Regions from separate parts of the Homo sapiens genome. Here regions 2, 3, 4, 5 and 6 are each linked to region 1. The links are contacts of gene promoters, found by promoter capture Hi-C in blood cells and fetal thymus (Javierre and others, 2016). All regions are on one chromosome and are shown on one strand. The core of a region is centred on a gene start or on the middle of the fragment in contact, and the rest is flanking DNA. Distances in the headings are between cores, read along the strand shown.

The links. The method cuts DNA at HindIII sites, captures the fragments that hold promoters and counts their contacts. A CHiCAGO score of 5 or more calls a contact.
Region 2: a fragment that was not itself captured here is called in contact with the fragment with the promoter of RERE-AS1 in region 1 in 2 of 17 cell types (naive B cells and total B cells); the score reaches 7.3 in naive B cells.
Region 3: a fragment that was not itself captured here is called in contact with the fragment with the promoter of RERE-AS1 in region 1 in 9 of 17 cell types (total B cells, activated CD4 T cells, naive B cells and 6 more); the score reaches 10.3 in total B cells.
Region 4: a contact is called between a fragment that was not itself captured here and the fragment with the promoter of RERE-AS1 in region 1, in 14 of 17 cell types (total B cells, naive B cells, megakaryocytes and 11 more). The highest score is 18.5, in total B cells.
Region 5: a contact is called between a fragment that was not itself captured here and the fragment with the promoter of RERE-AS1 in region 1, in 6 of 17 cell types (total B cells, megakaryocytes, naive B cells and 3 more). The highest score is 8.5, in total B cells.
Region 6: a contact is called between a fragment that was not itself captured here and the fragment with the promoter of RERE-AS1 in region 1, in 1 of 17 cell types (total B cells). The highest score is 6.1, in total B cells.

What each region holds. Positions count from the first base shown.
Region 1 is chr1:8,422,830-8,426,284 of GRCh38, reverse strand. RERE-AS1 (RERE antisense RNA 1) reads right to left here and starts at 1,640. Exons shown (of 4, transcript NR_125999.1): 1 at 1,584-1,640. All of the region lies in intron 11 of RERE (arginine-glutamic acid dipeptide repeats), which reads left to right. RefSeq lists silencers at 2,051-2,190, 2,501-2,840. The HindIII fragment of the contact is 3,073 bases long and covers 1-2,003 here.
Region 2 is chr1:8,763,982-8,767,680 of GRCh38, reverse strand. All of the region lies in intron 1 of RERE (arginine-glutamic acid dipeptide repeats), which reads left to right. Among named protein-coding and RNA genes, the nearest start is that of RERE, 52 kb to the left of the region's middle. RefSeq lists an enhancer at 3,561-3,610. The HindIII fragment of the contact is 2,615 bases long and covers 811-3,425 here.
Region 3 is chr1:8,726,873-8,730,514 of GRCh38, reverse strand. All of the region lies in intron 1 of RERE (arginine-glutamic acid dipeptide repeats), which reads left to right. Among named protein-coding and RNA genes, the nearest start is that of RERE, 89 kb to the left of the region's middle. RefSeq lists an enhancer at 1-103. The HindIII fragment of the contact is 3,283 bases long and covers 459-3,642 here.
Region 4 is chr1:8,707,667-8,711,143 of GRCh38, reverse strand. All of the region lies in intron 1 of RERE (arginine-glutamic acid dipeptide repeats), which reads left to right. Among named protein-coding and RNA genes, the nearest start is that of RERE, 110 kb to the left of the region's middle. RefSeq lists an enhancer at 321-821. The HindIII fragment of the contact is 6,249 bases long and covers 1-3,477 here.
Region 5 is chr1:8,684,866-8,688,673 of GRCh38, reverse strand. All of the region lies in intron 1 of RERE (arginine-glutamic acid dipeptide repeats), which reads left to right. Among named protein-coding and RNA genes, the nearest start is that of RERE, 130 kb to the left of the region's middle. RefSeq lists a silencer at 1,369-1,418. The HindIII fragment of the contact is 4,572 bases long and covers 1-3,808 here.
Region 6 is chr1:8,744,203-8,748,059 of GRCh38, reverse strand. The region is part of intron 1 of RERE (arginine-glutamic acid dipeptide repeats); the gene reads left to right. Among named protein-coding and RNA genes, the nearest start is that of RERE, 72 kb to the left of the region's middle. The HindIII fragment of the contact is 5,613 bases long and covers 1-3,857 here.

The DNA.
Region 1 (3,455 bases), core at 391-2,890:
GACGGGGTTTCACTGTGTTAGCCAGGATGGTCTCGATCTCCTGGCCTTGTGGTCTGCCCGCCTCAGCCTCCCAAAGTGCTAGGATTACAGGCATGAGCCACCGCGCCCGGCTGAAAGACACTTCTTAGGAAGAATACTGAGGACTTTATGATTTGACATTGGACCCGAGAAGAGGAAAGTACAGACTCATAGAAAATGGTAACAGAAAATAGTTACCACTGTAGACGCCTGCCTGCATTTTACAGAGTGTGGCTCTGAGGATTTGAGGGGGCTTAAGTTTGAATTCTGGCTTTGTCTCTGAGGAGTTGATCTAGTTACCTATCTGTGCCTCAGCTTCCTTGTCTGTAAAATGGGGATAATAATTGTACTTCTTCTTAGGTTGTAAAGATTTCGAATTAATATATATGAGGCTCCTGGCATATAGTAGGTACTTAGTAACTATTGGTTGAATGGATGATGTTCAAAGGATTGCATCACAATAAATGGAAGAAACAGGATCTGAATTTGTTTGTCCAACTCTGCCACCTTACCCTGATGTTCCAGAGTCAGCCTTTCTCACATGCTGCCTTTATTGTGTAGGCCTCTTTTACTGGACCTGTTAGATGTCACTTGGTATCAAGCCCACGTTCCGATTGCATGGTCCTGGCGTTCCACAGCCTGGCTCACTCCAGATTGCCCGCCCCAAGTCTGTGTAGACTGTCCCCTGTAACCCACCTCCCATTCTCCACCTCTGACCTTCACGGAGGGCCCGGTCACCAAGCCACCTCCCACCCCTGCAATAGTTGCCCACCCCTTGTGATCTCGCTGATGTCACTGCCTTGGCGAAGGCATTCTGAACTACTACAGACCACTGCAGTCTAGCCTTCTTGGGTCCCTTGCTGCACTGATGAGCTGCACCTCACTTCTTTATGCTTGGCCAGATGACATCTCAGAATGTTCTGTAATGACTTCACACATACTTATCTTACGTGCAAAAATGAATCACAGTTCAGTAAAGGTCCATGGCAACCTTTATTATCTTCCTAGACCCCTCTCAGCTAGGTGCTCAGTAAATACCTGAATACTTGAAGAATGGATTAAGCGGCAGGAATTCTGATTACTGAGGTGGAGTGTGCCAGTAGTTGAGGTCCTCATCTCATACCTGAACTGTGTCAGCAGCCTCTTTAACTGGTCTGTCCCTAATCTACACTTAGGCCACACTGCCACTGGCACAGTCCTCATCCAGTCTTTTCATGGAAAGCTCCAGCTTCAGCCTTTCTGCCAGCCTACAATTAGGAACTCTTCCGTGCGGCCTGAAGGGCTCTCTGCAACCGGATCCTTGCCTGCCTCTTTCGTCTTATCTGCTGGCACTCCATTCTGCACACCCTGTCCTCCTTGCAGTTCCCAGAATGTTCCCTGTGCCTTTTCCTGGCTGACTTCTGCTGGAAGCCCTGCTGGAGCCCACCTGGCAGGCTCACACTCTTCCTTGTCACTTCCTCTAAGACATCAGCAAGCAGAGTAAGTTGCTTCCTCTTCCTAGCTTCACCCACCACCCTTTGTTCCTCTGCTGCTTTTCTTGCAGGCCCTAGGACTGGTTTGTTTACCTGTCTGCCTTCCTGGGCAGACTGCAGCTCCTTGAGGGCAGGGCCATCTTTCCGTGCCGTCTCTCCCGGTGATATGCTGTGTGCACACAGCGTAGGATGCCTGTTGATCATATAAACGATACTTTTGTCAAGTAACAAAGGTCACTCCTCACACTAGAGGAGAGCTTGCTGCTTTCTTGTGCCTTGAGAGATTTTCCCTTCGAACTGTATGAATTATATTGAAAATTGACAATGATGAGTCATATCTCAGCAAGGGTGAAATTCAAAAACGCAAAGCCTCCACTACTGGAGTAGGAGGTTGCAGACTGGTCTTAAAAGGCTAAGTCTGGCCCTTCACTGAATCCGCCTGGCGGGTCTCAAACACAGGGAGTGGGAGGGACCCTCTGCCCGGTGGGCAGGTGATTTATTGGCTGGGAAGCTTCCGCGGTGATTTAGTTGTGAAGCGGCGGCCGGGGAAGTGCAGGCTAATGCCTGGGCCGCCAGGGAGAGGCCGCCCACAATCGCGGGCCGGAAGGGACCGCGGGGGGCGTCGGGGCCAGCCCCCCGTTTCGCAGCTGAGGCGGGGTTGGGGCGGAGGGCGTGCGGCCGGGGCGCAGCCGACTTCGTCCATCCGGAACGTGGGCTGGAGACCCAGCAGCCTGGGAAGGGCCCCAGCCCTGTGGGCGCCCTCTCCCCACGCTTGCTGCGGTAGGGAGGAAGTTTCTGTGCTTTACCGCCTTGATGTTCTCCTGTCCGGAAGGAGGACACAGATTCCAGCGCCGGGTGCCCTGGAGGCTCCGGCCTCGGGGTGGGGGTCGGGCCGGGGGCGGGGCCGGGGCCGGGGCGCGGGGCCCCGGCTGGCGGACAGGAGGGCGGCGGCAATCCAGGCCGCCTTTTGCAGCCGCCCGCGGCCGCGCCGGGCTCTGCGCGCCGCGCTCCTGCCTCCTCCCCCGTCAGCGGCGGCCCCAGCCCCGCGCCCCCCGGGCCCCGCGCCGCGCGGCCCCGCCGCGGTCACACGCCGAGCCACCCGCGGCCGCCTCCGCCCTGCGCTTTGTGGAGCCGGAGCCCAGTGACAGGCGACGGCCTCTTGCCGCCCCGGACCCCGGGCGCTTACCTGTGGCTGCTGGGGTCGGCCGCCCGGGACCAGGCTGGGAGCCCCGAGGTGGGGGCTCGGAGCCAGGAGCTGCCCCCACCGGGGCGGGGAGGGGTGCTCGGGAGGCATGGGACAAAGTGAAAGTCTCCGGGCTGGGGTTAGGGACGAGTCTGCTGCGAAAATGGATGGGGGCGGCGAGTGGCGTCGGGAGGGCGGAAGGGGTGCTGGTTATTCTCTGGTGTCTCGGAGTGGCTTTTAATGACGGACGGTGGGGCAGGCCCGCTGGCTTTCGTGTTCCCGGTGGGCTTCTGTGATACTGGTGCCTTCCGGTGCCTCCTGGCAAATTCTTTGGATTAAGGAAAGCGGCCTTTTAACCCCCTAGGGTTCCCTTCTGGAGAAGAGTCACCGGGTTTGGTTCTGTTTCCCCTTTCTGCTCGACACTTCTGGGAAGCTTGGTTCTCAGGTGGGAAAGCAGTTGTGTTTTATTAAAACATGGAGCATATTTATACCTTCGTGCACCAGAATGTGTGCCTGGTGGAAGAGGGGGACAGATTGCTTCTTAGCCTCAGACGCAGGACGTCCTTCTCTTAAACGCGCTGCCCTGCGTGGTGGGTGGGATTGGGGTTCTGATGAAGGTAGCTGGGGCCTGCCCTGGCCAGTGGGTCCCAGCTGAGCTGCTGACATACTCTCCGAGCCTCGGCAGTATTCCCTAGCCGAGACTTTTTTTGTGGTTGTTATTCTGCTGATTGTAGATATCTTTGCTTTGCTGACATCCTGTTTTGTTTTTGGTTTTTACATCC
Region 2 (3,699 bases), core at 869-3,368, 340 kb before region 1:
TAAAGAAAGCTTTTTATTTAGAAATCCCATCCTTTTTGATAAGCAGCATTTTTTTTCTTTCTCTTTTTTTTTTTTTGAGACAAGGCCTCACTCTGCAGCCCAGGTTGGAGTGCAGTGGTGCAATCTTGGTTTACTGCAGCCTCCACCTACTGGTTCAAGTGATCCTCCTGCCTTGGCCTCCCAAGTAGCTGGGATTAATACAGATGTGCACCACATCACCCAGCTAATTTTGACTTGCTTTTTGTAGAGATGAGATTTCACCATGTTGCCCAGGCTGGTCTCAAATTCTGGCTCAAGCAATTGTCCTGCCCCAGACTCCTAAAGTATTGGGATTACAGGCATGAGCCACTGTGCCTGGCCTCCATTGCTTTTATTTCAATTATGTATCAAACCTTGGATTCCTGGTCTACTTTCTCATACCACCCATCCTTCCGTTCCATTTCCTGAATTGATGACCTCATTTCCAGAGAAAATAGAAGCCATCAAATTAGAACTTCTCGGTTTTCAACCAGTAATGCTACATGCCAGTGATACCCAACTACTTACAGTTTCTGGTGTAGAAAATGAATAGTCAATTTATTGTTAAAAAGTTTAAAGTCCAATTTTCCTTGAGCCTTGAGTTCAGTTTATAAATCATATTAGTCTATTCATTAATTCAGTACATTTTATATAAAGGTAAAAGAAAAATAATGCAGTTTTTGATACATGTTGATTAATTCAAGTTGAATTCTGTTTAAATATCCAGTTCTACTTATAAACATAACTAACATTAAATTGCATTTTAAAATTAGATAAATGCCCAAGAAAGCTTCCAACAAAACCTTAAAACAAAACCTTCTTAAAACCTTCTCTAAGTCCTTATATAACTTTTGTAAATATAATTAAATTTCACAATATTGTGAATTTTCCTGCTCCCAAACATGTCTTTCTGTGTTTTCCTGTTTTGATAAATGCTACTCAATTTTCTAAGTAAGTAACCCTGGGCTGTGTTGATTCCTTCTCTTCTCCCCACTATATAGAATCAAGTATTGTTTCTTTTTCCTGTATCTCTTATCTCTTCCTAATCCATTACGCTAGTTCAGGCCACTGTCTCTCTCTCTCTCTTTTTTTTCTTTTCTTTTTTTTTTTTTTTTTGCAATGGAGTCTTGCTGTGTTGCCTAGGCTGGAGGGCAGTGGTGTAATCTTGGCTCTTGGCTGACTGCAACCTCCACCTCCTGGGTTCAAGTGATTCTCCCACGTCAGCCTCCTGAGTAGCTGGGATTATAGGTGCGTGCCACTACATCCAGCTAATTTTTTGATTTTTAGTAGAGATGGGGTTTCACCATGTTGGCCAGGCTGGTCTTGAACTCCCGACCTCAAGTGGTCTGCCAGCCTTGGCCTCCCAAGTGCGGGGATTATAGGCGTGAGCCACTGCACCTGGCCACTGTCTCTTGCTTGAATTACTTTATAGATTCCAAACCAGTTGGCATGTTCAAATCCTCTAATTTCTAACAAAATTAGAAATTTTGTTCTTCACTGCTGTAGTCCTTTTGATCTTTTGTTTGTTTTTTCTTTTTGTTGTTGTTGTTTTGAGATGCAGTTTCATTGTTGCCCAGGCTGGAGTGCAGTGTTGCAATCTCAGCTCACTGCAACCTCTGCCTCCCAGGTTCAAGTGATTCTCCTGCCTCAGCCTCCCAAGTAGCTAGGATTACAGGCATGCACCAGCACACTCGGCTAATTTTTTTTTTTTTGAGACGGAGTCTCGCTCTGTCGCCAGGCTGGAGTGCAGTGGTGCGATCTTGACTCACTGCAACCTCCGACTCCCTGGTTCAAGCGATTCTCTTGCCTCAGCCTCCCGGGTAGCCGGGATTGCAGGCACGTGCCACCATGTCCTACTAATTTTTGTATTTTTAGTAGAGACGGGGTTTCACCATGTTGGCCAGGATGGTCTCGATCTCCTGACCTTGTGATCCGCCTGCCTCGGTCTCCCAAAGTGCTGAGATTACAGGTATGAGCTACCTCGCCTGGCATAATTTTGTATTTTTAGTAGAGATGGGGTTTCACCAGGTTGACCTGGCTGGTTTTGAACTCCTGACCTCGGGTGATCCATCCACCTCAGCCTCCCAAAGTGCTGGTATTACAGACATGAGCCACCGCATCCGGCCTTTTGTTTGGTTTTATAACAGCTTTATTGAGATACAATTCACATATCATATAATTTACCTACTTAAATTGTACAATTCAATTGTTTTTTGTGTTCACAGAGTTGTGCAATCATCACTGCAATTTCAGAACATTTAATTATGCCCAGAAGAAATCCTGTATCCATGAGCAGTTACTCCTCATTTCCTCCTCTACTCATCCCCCAGCCCTAAGCAGCCCTTAATCTTCTTTCTGTCTTTATGGATTTGCCTATTCTGGACATTTCACGTTAATTGAATCATGTAGTCTTTTGTAACTGGCTGCTTTGACTTAGTATAATGTTTTCAAGGTTCACCCATGTGGTAGCATAACATCTGTACTTCATTCCCAATAAATGCCAAATCATAGTCCATTGTGTGGCTATGCCACATTTTATTTATTCACTAGTTGATGGACACTTTGAATGGTTCTACTTTTTGGCTGTTAAAAAAATGCTGTTGTGAACGTTCATGTACAAACTTCTGTGAGGATGTGTATTTGCATTTCTCTTGGGGTGACTTCCAAAGCCTAAGAGTGAAATTTTTGGGGGGTATGGAACCTCTGTTTAACATTTTGAGAAACTGACAAACTGTTTTCCAAAGTGGCTACACCATGTTACAATTTTACTAGCAATGCATGAACCTTGCAGTTTTTCCACATTAGCACTAATACTTACTATCTGGGTTTTGGATTGTAGCCATTCTGATGGGTGTGAAGTGGTATCTTACAGTTTTGATTTGCATTTCCCTAATGAGGTTGAGCCTCTGTCTTGTGCTTACTGGCCCTTTGCTTTTTTGGAGCCTTTGATCTTTTAAAAATAGAAATCTGGGTGAATTACGTCCCTGAGTAATGGCTGTGTGGTGAACATTCTTTTCTTCTTAGCCTGGTCACCTCTTGCTTGCTTCAGTTTACAGGTAATTTTCTTCAGGGAGCCTTCCTTGAACCCCGGCTGTTTGCATTCAGCCCACTCTGTTGTTGTGATTGTTTATCTAGACTTCCTTTCTGACCACACTAAGCATAGTTAACAGAGATTATACTTGGCATGGGATTGACTGGATGACTGAATACATAGATGACTGTAGCTTTTTTTTGTTTTTAAACATTTAACTTAAGAAAAAAATTCTGTCTTGGAGTTAGTACCCGAAGCAGTATTTCATGATTTTTGTGTGTTCCTTGTTTCCTCTCATTTTCCCGATGGCACTAAGGCACCTGGCTGGGATCCTATAGAGAGCGACACATTGCAGTTGCTCTCTGCATAGTAAGCTTCCCCCAAGAGTCATAGATGAGGCAAAACCCATGTGTACTCTGAGGCCAGGGCTGAGTGCATAAGGAGCAGCTGCAACTTGCCCTGGGGATATTCTTTGACCTGGAGGAGGCAGTGATGAGGGAAAGGGAAGACAGCGTGGGAACCATCTTGATAAGAAGCATGGGGTTCTGAGAAATAGCCTCCTAGGATTGGTACACTGCAGCTGGTGGCAGAGGTCTTCTTGACCTTGAGTTAGCTTTTTGAGTGAGAATAAATAACAGTCAACTAGCACC
Region 3 (3,642 bases), core at 851-3,350, 300 kb before region 1:
AAAAATTAGCTGGGTGTGGGGACGCATGCCTGTAATCCCAGCTACTTGGGAGGCTGAGGTAGGAGAATGGGGTGAACCCGGGAGGCGGAGCTCGCGGTGAGCCGAGATCGCGCCACTGCACTCCAGCCTGGGCAACAGAGCGAGACTCTGTCTCAAAAACAAAAACAAAAACAAAAAAAACCCCAAAAACAAATGGGGGAAATTACTTTTCTAAGTTACAGGGAGAGTCAAAACCCGGACTAGAACCTGGGTCTCTTGACTAGATCATCTTCAAGCTGTATTTTTGTATCTACATATAGTGACCTTCAAAGGGATTCATTATATTTCATCTTGTGTATTGTATGTTTGACAAGTATATTTGTTTTGATGGTTCACTGATTTCAGTCCTTGGTATTTACCTCAAGTTCATTCTGGGATCTGGTTCTATTCATACACATTATCATAGCTATTTGGAAGCTTACTTGAAATCTTCTCTTTGAAAGAAATATCAGCCTATCTCAGGTGTGAGCTTCAGTGTAACATTGATGTGAGTGAAATAGTATGTTATATAGAAAATTTTATTTTCCCCTGCCATCCCTTACATAAGATTTTTTAAATACCTGAAAGAAAACCTTAGAGCTCTTCATTCAGTCTTTGGAAAAGCCTGATGTGAACCATCATATGGGAGGAATCAGCTGCATCTGTCATTCTTTCTTCCCATGAGTTCCCATAATTTCATTTTCTTAATATGTAGTATAGGGTGGATAGCAGTCATAATCCCCTTTTCCATCTCAAGCCAGCCCACACTCCTTAGCCTCATGCACATGACATTCCTCTTAAGTTGTGATCTGGAGAAGGCTGGAGATGTTTGCTGTTGGCAGTCTTTTTCTGTAAAGGGCCAGATATAGTAAATATTTAGTCTTTTCAGGTTGTATGGTCTCTGTTTCAAGTATGGAACTCTGCCATTGTAGTGGGAAGACAAACAACCATAGAAAATACACATAAAAAAATAAGGCCAGGTGCAGTGGCTCATGCCTGTAACCCCAGCACTTTGGGAGGCCGAGGCGGGTGGATCACAAGGTCAAGAGTTCGAAACCAGCCTGGCCAACGTGGTGAAACCCCGTCTCTACTAAAAATACAAAAATTAGCCAGGCATGGTGGCACGTGCCTGTAGTCCCAGCTACTTGGGAGGCTGAGGCAGGAGAATCACTTGAAACCAGGGAGGCAGAGGTTGTGGTGAGCTGAGATTGTGCCACTGCACTCCAGCCTGGGCAACAGAGCGAGACTCCATCTCAATAAAAAAAAAAAAAAAAAAAAATCGGTGTAGCTGACTTCTAATAAAACTTGATTGATTGATTGATTGATTGAGATGGAGTCTCACTCTTGTTGCCCAGGCTGGAGTGCAATGGTGTGGCACGATCTCAGCTCACCGCAGCTTCCACCTCCCGGGTTCAAACGATTCTCTGCCTCAGCCTCCTGAGTAGCTAGGATTACAGGCTTGCGCCACCATGCCCAGCTAATTTTGTATTTTTAGTAGAGACAGGGTTTCTCCATGTTGGTCAGGCTGGTCTTGAACTCCCGACCTCGGATGATCACCTGCCTCGGCCTCCCAAAGTGCTGGGATTACAGGCATGAGCCACTGCGCCTGGCTATAAAAGTTTATTTTCAAAAACAGGTGCAGTCTCTTGGCCCTAGTTGCTAGCTGCTGTTTCAGAGCCTGTGGAAATCTTACCTTCACTTTATGCCCCAAAGGATGCCATCGTTTTTATCTACTGGATGGGATCCCCAAGATTACTTAGATTGTTTTCAGAAGTAATAACAGATATCTGGGTATGGAGCATAGCATCTTAGTTTTAGTTTCTTTTTTGAGGGATGCTTTTTGGTGTTATGGTATACCACAGGTGCCTAGAGAAAATTCCGTTTTAGGTGCTGTCCTTTGAGGAAATACTGCTGATCTCAAATAACTGTGGGTAATTGAAATATCATACCTTTTAATGGTGACTACTAATCCCCTAAAAAGAATATAGACTTTTTCGCTCTAAACATGGTTTCAATAGGGTTTTTTTTTTTTTGATGGTCTCTTATGACTCTAGATTGAAACAAACAAGAAAATAACCCTACTTCTATAGTTACTATAACAGCTGAGGCAAGCTATACTACCAGTGGTGCATGGTAAAGCCTGCCTTTTAATAAGTTCTTAAATATAAAGAATGATAGAAAGTTTCAAGTTATGGTGTGTTATAGGTGCCTATGGAGTTATTAGGTTAGAGGAATGATTTTAATTTACTTGGATTCCTTAGCACATTGCTTATTGCATGCGTGCTCAGTAAAAGTGGATACTGGTGTTTGTGCTTTGCAGCTACCGCAGGTCTTGGTTGTCATGGCTTCTCATTAGTGCATTAAGATCCCTTTAGAGCTCTGGTTGCCTGGCAAGAGAAAAGGCAGGAACTGCCAGGAGCTGAAAGGACAGATGCTTAGCTGCAGAAGTAGCCTCTGGGGAGCGTTGGCTGCGTTGGCTGAGGTTCGTGTGCATGTGGTCAAATGTGTGAACTTGGGTTTTGCTAGACAAAACTCTGGGCTACATGGATTAATTAATATATGCTACAAGTGGTCTTTGTTTTAGAAGTCTTTGCAGTTTGAGCTATTTAAAACTTTTTTTAAATAAGCAAATTAGAAGATTCTGTTTGGGGTGCATTCCTGTCCTTTGGGGAAGTACTGCTGACCTTTAAGAATAGTGGGTAATTGGCCGGGCTCAGTGGCTCACACCTGTAATCCCAGCACTTTGAGAGGCCGAGGCTGGCGGATCACGAGGTTAAGAGATCAAGACCATCCTGGCCAACATGGTGAAACACCGTCTCTACCAAAAATACAAAAATCAGCTGGACGTGGTGGCGCGTGCCTGTAGTCCCAGTTACTTGGGAGGCGGAGGCAGGAGAATCGCTTGAACCCGGGAGGCAGAGGTTGCAGTAAGCTGAGATTGTGCCACTGCACAACAGCCTGGCGACAGAGCGAGACGCTGTCCAAAACAAACAAACAACAAAAAAATAAAAAACAGTGGGTAATTGAAATATTGTATGTTTTAATAATGACTACTAGCCAGATGCGGTGGCTCACATCTGTAATCCCAGCCCTTTAAGAGGCTGAGGCGGGCGGATCACCTGAGGTCGGCAGTTCAAGACCAGCCTGACCAACATGGAGAAATTCTGTCTCTATGAAAAATACAAAATTAGCTGCGCATGGTGGCGCATGCCTGTAATCCCAGCTACTCACGAGGCTGAGGCAGGAGAATCGCTTGAACCCTGGAGGCGGAGGTTGTAGTGAGCCGAGATCGCGCCACTGCACTCCAGCCTGGGCTACAGAGCGAGACTCCTTTCCCCCCACCCCGCGCCCTCCAAAAAAAAGACTACTAATCCACTGAAAAAAGGTCAGTTGGCTGGGCCCAGTGGCTCATGCTGTAATCCCAGCACTTTGGGAGCCAAAGGCGGGTGGATCACCTGAGGTCAGGAGTTTGAGACCAGCCTGGCCAACATGGTGAAAACCCGTCTCTACTAAGAGTACAAAAATGAGCTGGGTGTGGTGGTGCATGGCTGTGATCCCAGCTACTCTGGAGGCTGAGGTAGGGGAATTGCTTGAACTCAGGAGGTGGAGGTTGCAGTGAGCTGA
Region 4 (3,477 bases), core at 157-2,656, 290 kb before region 1:
ACTCTGTCACCCAGGCTGGAGTGCAGTGGCTCGATCTGGGCTCACAGCAGCCTCCGCCTCCCAGGTTCAAGTGATTCTCCTGCCTCAGCCTCCCGAGTAGCTGGGATTATAGGCATGCGCCACCATGCCCAGCTAATTTTTGTAATTTTAATGGAGATGGGGTGTTGCCATGTTGGTCAGGCTGGTTTTGAACTCCTGGCCTTAAGTGATCCACCCGCCTTGGCCTCCCAAAGTGCTGGGATTACAGCACTTTGCTACTGTAATCCCAGTAGTTTACAGGTGTAAGCTACTCCGCCTGGCCTATCACTCTTAAATATGTTTGGGACTATGGCCAGGCACGGTGGCTCACGCCTGTAATCCCAGCACTTTGGGAGGCTGAGGCAGGCGGATCAAGAGGTCAGGAGATTGAGACCGTCCTGGCTAACACGGTGAAACCCCGTCTCTACTAAAAATACAAAAAATTAGCCGGGCGTGGTGGGCACCTGTAGTCCCAGCTACTAGGGAGGCTGAGGCAGGAGAATGGCATCAACCTGGGAGGCGGAGCTTGCAATGAGCCGAGATCATGCTACTGCACATCAGCCTGGGTGACACAGCGAGACTCCGTCTCAAAAAACAAACAAACAAACAAATATCTATGTTTGGGACTATGTTGGAAAGTAAAACATGAAGGAAGGTTGTAACTAATGCCCAACCTTAATGTTGTACCTATGTTATTTCACTTTAAAGTGTGCTATTCAGAGTTTTACTAAAGGCCAGTCTGTCTTGGGCTTTTTGTTTTCTTTTTATAATCTGATGTTATTTCTAGTTATTTTTCAAGAGTATATTACGTAGACTGCAACAGTATATTCAAGAGTATATTACGTAGATTGCAACAGTCCCCCCAGGACTTAGGGGGAAGAACATTTTGATTTGGTTTGGGATTGAGAGTGTCTGTGGAATGCCATTATGGTGGAACCCATAGGGCATTTGCATATGTGGGCCTCTTGCTAAGAAGCAAGCTCAGCTGGAAAAATCAAATTTTGGAATCACAAACACAGAAACAGCTTGAGAGTGGATCTTTTCACTGATGTGAGATGGCCGAATGTGATAAAAGGAGGCTTGACAGGGACTACTTGTATTTAGGAGGAGTCATGGAAAGAAAGAGAGAATCGCCAGAAAGGTAGGAGATCCAAGAGAGTGCCTAATCCAAAACCAAACCAACAAAAACCAGAATAAGAGTATGGGAACAGGACCAGGACCCACTGCTGGTAAGAGTATAAGTTGTACAGCTTTTGGATGGCTGTTTGACTCTCTCTGAAAGAGTGTATATTCATTGAACTAGGGATTCCTTCAGTGTAGAAATACATGTATGCACAAAGAAGTTTGTTGTAGCACTGTTTATAAGAGTAAAAAATGTGAAAAAGACTCAATAAGGGGCTTGTTATATAATAATTATGGGACTCCCACACTGTTCAGTTCTTTGCAGTAATAAACAAGAATGGGATGTTAATGGTCTTCTGTAAAGTGAGAGAAGTGACTTGCTGTATAACATAAATAGTGGGATTTCATCTTTGTGACAAAAAATCAACAAGTGAACCCTCAGACAAATGAATACATATGTTTTTATGTATATGTGCATGCTTTTGTACCTATGTTCTAGAGAAGAGCCTGGTAAACCTTCAGCCTGTTAAGTGGAATTGCTTGGATTTTCCGTAGGACCATATACTCTAAAAAAAATCTACAAGGGAGCTGGGTGCCGTGGCTCACCCGTAATCTTAGCACTTTGGGAGGCCGAGGTGGGTGGATTGCTTGAGCTCAGGAGTTCATGACCAACGTGGGCAACATACTGAGACCCTGTCTCAATATAAGAAAAAAAAAAATTAAAAAATCTAAAAGAGCTTCAAGAATTTTATATTTTTCTTTTTTCTTTTAAAAACTCTAGAGTTGCCGGGCACGGTGGCTCACGCCTGTAATCCCAGCACTTTGGGAAGCCAAGGCGGGCAGATCATGAGGTCAGGAGATCGAGACCATCCTGGCTAACACGGTGAAACGCCGTCTCTACTAAAAAAATACAAAAAAAATAAATTAGCTGGGTGTGGTGGCGGGCACCTGTAGTTCCAGCTACTCGGGAGGCTGAGGCAGAAGAATGGCGTGAACCCAGGAGATGGAGCTTGCAGTGAGCCGAGATTGCACCACTGCACTCCAACCTGGGCGACAGAGTGAGACTCTGTCTCAAAAAAAAAAAAAAAAAAAAAAAAACTCCAGAGTTTTTGTTGTCTAGTGACATTTTGGTGAGTTGGAAAAGCAAAAGAAGTAGATAGTTTGCTTAAAATTGTAACTCCATGTATTAGTATATTTTCATGCTGCTGATAAAGACATACCAGAGACTGGGAAGAAAAGAGGTTTAGTGGACTCACAGTTCCACGTGGCTGGGGAGGCGGAAGGCAAAGAAGAGCAAGTCACATCTTCTATGGATGACAGCAGGCAAAGAGATGGAGAGGTTGTGCAGGGAGACTCCCATTTTTAAAACCGTCAGATTGGCCGGGTTCAGTGGTTCATGCCTGTAATTCCAGCACTTTCGGAGACTGAGGTGGGTGGATTCAGTGAGGTCAGGAGTTCCAGACCAGCTGGCCAACATGGTGAAACCCTATCTCTACTAAAAATAGAAAATTAACTGGGTGTGGTGGCACACACCTGTAGTCCCCAGCTACTTGGGAGGCTGAGACAGGAGCATTGCTTGAACCTGGGAGGTGGAGGTTGTGGTGAGCAGAGGTTGCGGTGAGCTGAGATCATGCCACTGCACTCCAGCCTGGGGGTCAGAGTGAGACTCCGCCTCAAAACAAAAACAAAAACAAAAACAAAAAAGCAACCATCAGATGTTGTGAGACTTATCCACTATGACGAAAACAGCATGGGAAAGACCTGCCCCCATGATTCAGTTATCTCCAACCGGGTCCTTCCCACAACATGTGGGAATTATGGGAGCTACAAGATGAGATTTGGATGCGGACAAAGAGCCAAACCATATCCCTCCGTATTCTGTATAGGACAGTAGTTTCCTCTTACCCTTGGGAATGTGTTCCAAGGCCCCCGTGGGTTCCTGAAACTGGATAATACTGAACCCTGTTTTTACTATTTTCCTACACATACCTACCTATGATAAAATTTGATTTATAAGGGAAATTAAATTATCAATAATAAGAACAATTATAACAATACATTGTAATGAAAATTATATGAATGTGGCCTCTCAAAGTATCTTACTGTACCTTAGTCACCTATTTTTGAACTGTAGTTGACTCAGGGTAACTGAAGCCTTGGAAAGCGAAACTGTGGATAAAAGTGGAGTACTGTGTTACAAATCAAATCCTCTCCACCCTAGCATCCTATGCGGACATAGCTAACTGGTACTAATACAATCCTGGATTCAGTCACTGTTTGCTGGATGACGTTGGGGTGTACTTTTGACATTTTGACATGGGTGAGCTAAATTACTTG
Region 5 (3,808 bases), core at 670-3,169, 260 kb before region 1:
TCCCATGCTCAAGTTATCCTCCCACCTTAGCTTCTGGAGTAGCTGGGAGGCTACAGGTGTGTGCCACTATGCCTGGCTAATTTTTTAATTTTAATTTTAATTTTTTTTTTTTTGAGATGGAGTCTTACTCTTTTGCCCAGGCTGGAGTGCAGTGGTACAATTTTGGCTCACTGCAACCTCCACCTCCTGGGTTCAAGGGATTCTTCTGCCTCAGCCTCCCAAGTAGCTAGGATTACAATAGCAGGTGCTGCGCCCAGCTGATTTTTGTATTTTTAGTAGAGACGGGGTTTCACCATGTTACCCAGGCTGGTCTTCGACTCCTGAGTTCAGGTCATCCGCCTTTGCCTCCCAAAGTGTTGGGATTACAGGCATGAGCCACCATGCCTGGCCTTAAATTTTTTGTAGAGATAGGGGTCTCATGTTCTCCAGGCTCCTCTCAAACTCGTTGGTTCAAGCGATCCTCCTGACTTGGCCTTCCAAAGTGTTGAGATTATAGGCGTTAGTCGCTGTGCCCTGAACTGAAAGTGAAAAATGGAATAGTTGTGTGGTTACCTAGAGTATGTTTTCCACTGAATGCGTATCACTTTTGGACTGTTGTTAATTTGAAAAAATCGTATGTTAGACCCTCTTAAGTTGGGGACCATCTGTGTTCATAGAGTTGTGCAACCAGGACCATATTATTAGAAATAGATTTTTATATGGCAGTTCTTGGTGATTAATTGAATGCTGTTAGATAATCTTTTTGTGTAAATTTGTACTTCTGTGAATAAGAATATAACTAAACTAAAACTAAATTTGTACTTCTGTGAATAAGAATATAAGATGTTTTACTTTGCAATATATAATTGGCTTAAGGCATTAAAACCCTGCTTTTGTTTACTGTGGTCTGACATAAGGGAGTTAACTTCAGCTTAAGGTTATTAAATCCTTCAATGACTGATGACTCCCTTCAAGTTATGTATGACGAAGCAATTATGAATATGGTGTGAAAATGGGATGTAATCTCTTTCAACACATTATTTGGAGAAATTACGACTCTCCCCAAGTATTGTATATTCAAATATGTTAGACACTGACCATTTTCAGCAGTTTGTTAGAGAATTTTTTATTTATAGTAGAAAGTCAGAGTCAGCCTTTATGTCTCAGATTTGGTGAGTTTCTCAGTGTTAATTCCCAATTGGTTAATAAACGTCAAATGGAGCTTTAAGGCTCCTGGGCAAGTCCATTCACTTATGCAGTTTCTTAGATGCCTGTTTCATACATTGTCCTTTTATACTTCCTCCTTGGCCTCATGGTGGGCTTCCTACTTGCATGAGAAAATCAGAACAGTCTTAAGAGCCCTTCTGCAGACTCCTACCACATCTTGCCACCTTCCAGGGCATCCTGTGCTTTCCCCACTGCTTGTGTATAGACCAGCTGTTCAGGGAACTCTCTGAGGCGCCACCCGTGCCCTCTCACATAGTAATTTCCTGTCTCTCATAATGTTGATGTTTCATTCTCTGCTGGATCTTTCCCAGCAGCATACAAACATGCCGCTTTTCTCCAATCTTAAAACAGATACAAACTCCCGTATTTGGATCCCACTTACTCTGCCAGCTATTGCTGATTTCTCTGCTTCCTTTGCAGAAAAACTTCTCAACAAGAGTTTTCTGTACCCAGATCTCCAGTTCTCCTTTCCTCTTAAATCCATCCGTTGTTGCTCCAGGGAAACTGCCCTTGTGATGATCACTAAGGCCTCTGCACTGACTGTTCCTTCTGCCTGGGATATGTTTCTCCAAATATCTGTAGCTCACCGTCCCGCTTTCGAGTCTCAGTGAGAGGCCTACCTTGACCCTCAGTCTCGGCTCTACTTTGTCCTTACTCTGCTCTGTTTTCCCCTAGAGTACTTGTCTTCATCACAAACTACACCTTTATTTTTTTTTTGAGACTGAGTTTCGCTCTTGTCGCCTAGGCTGCAGTACAATGGCGTAATCTCAGTTTACTGCAACCGCCACCTCCCGGGTTCAAGTGATCCTGCTGCCTCAGCCTCCCAAGTAGCTGAGATTACAGGCACCCACCACCACACCCAGCTAATTTTTGTATTTTTAGTGGAGATGGGGTTTCACCATGTTGGCCAGGCTGGTCTTGAACTCCTGACCTCAGGTGATCCACCCGCCTTGGCCTCCCAAAGTGCTGGGATTACAGGCATGAGCCACCGTGCCCGGCTACATCTTTATTTTTATTGCTTATTGTCTTGTTTCTTCCACCAGAATGTAAAGTCCTGAATGACAGAGAATTTTGACTCTTTGGTTTACTGCTCTATCTCCAGCACATAATAGGTGTCTGATAAATATTTGTTGAATTTCTACGTAATTCCCTAGGATGCATGGCTTTAAAAATTACCTAAATGCAGGCTAGACACAGTGGCTTACACCTGTAATCCTAGCACCGTGAGAGGCCAAGACGAGCGGATTGCTTGATCCCAGGAGTTCAAGACCATCCTGGGCAACATGGCAAAACCCCGTCTCTACTAAAAATACAATAAATTAGCCAGGCATGGTGATGTGCATCTGTAGTCCCAGCTACTTGGGAGTCTGAGGTGGGAGGATTGCCTGAGCTTGGGAAGTCGAGGCTGCAGTGAGCTGAGATCGTGCTACTGCTCTCCAGCCTGGGTGATGGATGTGAGACCTTGTTTCCAAAAAAAAAAAAAAAAATTACCTAAAGAGTTTAAAATGTTATCTTTAGTCCAGACCTACTTAGCTGCCTTCCTTGTATCTCCACTCAGAAGATATAGCTCCACTCACATGTCCAGTAAGCACCTAACACTTAACATGTCTAAATGGAACTCTGATGTTTTTCCCCAAACCACATATCATTGTGGAGTTTTATTTTTAACTTCTTCAGCCAGCTGAGTTTTATGCACCAGCTTCTTTTCTTTGGTTTATACATTGTACCACCTGAAAAACCAGCGGTAATTGGAGCAATCTTAGGTTATTTAAATTAGTCTTATTTGGCATCTCTAAAGCAGTCACATTTTTGGACATTGAAAACGATTCTAAACAGTAGAGTAGCTGGGACTACAGGGGCGTGCCACCACACCCGGCTGATTTTTTTTGTTTTTTTGTGTGTGTGTTTTTAGTAGAGACAGGGTTTCACCGTGTTAGCCAGGATGGTCTAGATCTCCTGACCTCGCGATCCACCCACCTCGGCCTCCTAAAGTGCTGGGATTACAGGCGTGAGCCACCGCGCCCGGCCTTAATAGATAAATCTTTATTGTGGATTTCTTAGGATTATTTGTATTTTGTTGTTTTAATACTTGGAAATATGGTTGTAGCTTTCAAAGTAAGGAAGTAATGATAATTGTTATTGAAACTTGGATGACTTTAAAATATTTTACTTACCGTTATTTAGCAAATATAAAATGCTTCCTGGAAAGCCTTTCTGTGTGTAGTAGGTAAACTGTTGAATCAGGAAATGTGTAGTTTAAAAGTTCCTCTCTATGGAAGCATCAAATTAGTTCTTTAAAATCCAAATTTGGGCTGGGTGTGGTATGTCACTCCTATAATCCCAGTGCTTTGGGCAGCCTAGAAGAGAGGATTGCTTGAGCCCAGGAGTTTGAGACCACCCTGAGTAACATAGTGAGACCTTGTCTCTACAAAAAATTGAAAAATTAGCTGGCTGTGGTGGCACGTGTCTGTGGTCCCAGTTACTTGGAAGACTGAAGCAGGAGGATTGCTTGAGCCCAGGAGGTTGAGGCTGTAGTGAGCCATGATCGTGCACTGCACTCCAGCCTGGATCACAGAGTGAGATCCTGTCTCAAATGAATGGA
Region 6 (3,857 bases), core at 1,099-3,598, 320 kb before region 1:
ACGCTTGTAATCCCAGCACTTTGGGAGGCTGAGGTGGGCGGATCACTTGAGGTCAGGAGTTCGAGACCAGGCTAGCCAACATGGTGAAACCCCATCTCTACTAAAATAAATACAAAAATTAGCTGGGTGTGGTGGCATGCACCTGTAATCCTAGCTACTCGGGAGGCTGAGGCAGGAGAATTACTTGAACCCGGGAGGCGGAGTTCTCGGCAGTGAGCTGAGATTGTGCCATTGTACTCCAGCGCGGGCGACAGAGCAAAGCTCTGTCTCAAATATACCTACTCTCTTATTATCTTTAGTAACAACTAGGCTAGGAAATAATATTAATGAGATAATGAGATTAGAGAGTAAAGGAGGATTAGGTTTTGGGGGTAAAATGTGTATGGGATATTTAGTTAGAGAATTCCAGTTCACCGTTTGCATATGGGCTTTGAGTTTAGGAAGATAGTTCTGTAACTAGATAAGGTAATATTTAGAGTGTCTTAAATATAGTAGATACTCAGTAAATCAAGTATGAATATCATGTGTTGATTTATCTGTCTTTCCAAAGTTGTAATTGGTAGCAAAAAAAATTAGGGTGTTTAAAAAAAAAAATTGGACAAAACTTTCTTTGAGCCTTCATCACCTCTGGCCTGGTTACCCTAGCAGGTTCTTAACAGGTCTTGTTCTCCCTGCCCACCTCCCACTTCCATGCCCACCCCCATGCCATTTGTTTTCACAACACAGCAAGCCTAAGGATCCTTTTAAAAGTTAAGTCAGGGCTGGGCGCGGTGGCTCATGCCTGTAATCCCAGCACTTTGGGAGGCCGAGGTGGTCAGATCACGAGGTCAGGAGATCGAGACCATCCAGGTTAACATGGTGAAACCCTGTCTCTACTAAAAATACAAAAAATTAGCTGGGTGTGGTGGTGGGCCCCTGTAGTCCCAGCTACTCGGGAGGCTGAGGCAGGAGAATGGCGTGGACCCGGGAGGCGGAGCTTGCAGTGAGCCAAGATCGCTCCAGCCTGGGCGACAGAGCGAGACTCCGTCTCAAAAAACAAAAAAGAAAGTTAAGTCAGATCCTGTCCCTCTTCTGCTTGGGACTTTGCAATAGCTTGACCTTTCACAATGCCATCTTGGGGTGTCTGTCTGTCTGGCTCTGTCTCTCTCTCCCTCTCCCTTTCTCTCTCTCTCTCTCTCTCTCTTTTTTGTTCCCCCATCTCTCTTCTCTCTCCCCTCCCTCCCCTGCCTGCCCTCCTTCTCTCTCACTTCCCCCCCATACACGCTCCCACACTTGCTTGCCCCAGCCACACAGGCCTTCTTGCTGTTTCTCTTATCTGCCAGGTGTCCTCTTATAACTGTTTCTTTGGCCCTGAGTACAATTAATTGTAATGTAAGTCAGACCACGATCATGACTCGTATGTCAGTATAGTCTCTGACTTATGATTCTTTGACTTAGAATTTTGTAAGTTTATGATGGTGCAAAAATGATACACAGTCAATAGAAACCATACTTTGAGTACCATATAACCATTTTGTTTTTCACTTTCTGTATTCAATAAGTTACATGAGATATTCAAATTTATTATAAAATAGGCTTTGTATTTTTTTTCTTCTTCTGGTGGTTCTAGCAGAAGTTATGGGGAGGGTTCTCAGTGGTTCTTACTGAGACATGGGTCCATTCTTGAACAAGTCATGGTGGCCAGGAGGATTTAGTATGGTGAGCAACCCTGGATCCACCCAAACTACATGTTATTAGGTCCCCATATGAAGTGGTAGTTCCCTAGAGTAAAGTCAGTAAGGAGGGTGCTTTGTTAAACAGACAAAAGCTATCATCAGACTATGATTTACGTTAACATAGATACAATCTCTTTGAACAGAGATATAAACAGAGTACTTTGGCAATACCCTGAAGGCAACAAATAATTCTGATTGTGAGGATCAAAGAAATTTTCACAGAGGTTACATTTAAACTGGGCCTTTCAAAAGTAAGAGGAATTTTATTTGGTTTTGTTTTGAGATAGGCTCTTGCTCAGCAGCCCAGGCTGCAGTGCAGTGGCAGGATCATGGCTCATTGCAGCCTCAACTTCCTGGGTTCAAGCAATCCTGCTTCAGCCTCTCGAGTAGCTGGGACCACAGGCATGTGCTGCCATGCTTGGCTAATTTTTAATTTTTGTAAAGATAAGATCTGCCTGTGTTGCCTAGGCTGGTCTTGAATTCCTGGGCTCAAGCGATTCTCCTACCACAGCCTCCCAAAGTGCTAGTATTACCGGTGTGAGCCACCGTTCACGACCAGTAAGAAAGATGTTTTAAAACAGAAAAGAAAGGGAATATATGTTAGGGGGTGGAAAAGTATGTATGCCAAGACATGGAGGTTCAAGCCTGGAAGAGAAGGGGCTGAGGACAGAGGTCCAATCCGTATATTAGAGTATTAAGGAGTTTAGACTTCATTCAGTGAACCGTGGAATCCTGTAGAAGTTTTAAGCAGGAGTATAATGTCATCGCACCTCCTTTTGCAGTTTAGCCAGGCGATCATGACAGCTGAACCTAGGCCAACGGTGGTCTGGAATGGAATGGGACAGATGGAAAACATTTGGGAGATAGAAATGAAATTATAATAGCTGGACATGCCAAGTGTCAGTAGTTGAGAGAAACGTAACCATGTGTATTAGTCTGTCTTTGCACTGCTATAAAGAAATACCTGAGCCTGTTTAATTTATAAAGAAAAGAGGTTTAATTGACTCCCAATTCTATGTAGCTGGAGAGGCCTCAGGAAACTTACAATCATGGCAAAAGGCAAAGCAGGCACCTTCACAAGGTGGCACGAGCGAGTGAGGAGCAAAGGAGGAAGAGCCCCTTATAAATCCCTCAGATCTCCTGAGCACTCACCATCTCTAGAACATCATGGGGGAAACTGCCCTGTGATCCAATCACCTCCTGCCAGGCCTCTCCCTAGACACGTGGGGATTATGAGGATTACAATTCAAGATGAGATTTGGGTGAGGATACAGCCAAACCAAATCACCATGGAAGTCACTAGAATGCCCTGGGGTGAAGTGGTAGAGGAGTGGTTTATACCTGAGAGTTTCTATTCATGGACCCACTTGACTGGAGGTAGGATAAACTGCATCTACAGCGCCACGTATGTCATGGGAAAATCAAATTGTCCTAATATGTGATTTTTGTTTTCTTGGGTCTAGGTGATTTTGAAGTTTTCCATTTTAGACTATGGGCATTTGTCTCCATTATCCTGTACATACTATTTATTCCATCTTAATAGATTTAAGAAGTCTTTTTGTATGGGGAACATATATTTTATTTGTCTCTTACCACAAAATGCAGTGTAGAACTTTGTACGTTTTAGCTTACTGACTTCTGTTAACTGATTAACACCTCTATTTCTGTGTTTTCTTATTTTATCGCTAAAGTTTGAAGGTCATCTCTTTTAGACCATATTATGAGCTATTTAGATCAGTTCTGTCTTTCCTATTGTTTTAATGGCCAAATGGCACACTGGTTGGTATACTTTTTCTATCAAAATTACCTGATTGAGAATGTACCCATCAGTTACATTGCTGTGTATGTTTTAGATAGTAGGCGTGTTTAAGAATGCAGCTAATACAGTGTTTGTGAAGAGTTGTATTATTAGAGGGCATGTATGTGGAAAAACAAAGGTGAAACGGAATTCTCCCTGTGGTTAGTGTGACCCTCATAATGTTATAAGTGGTGTGGTGTAAATCGTTACTACCCACATATGGAACTTAAGCAGTTTACATTTTCTACATCAGGGTTTTCCATTGCTTTAGCAGGACATAGAATTCCTTGCTTTTTGTTAAAACGTACGTGAGCACCCAGGGGCAGCCTTAATGATTTTTGGGT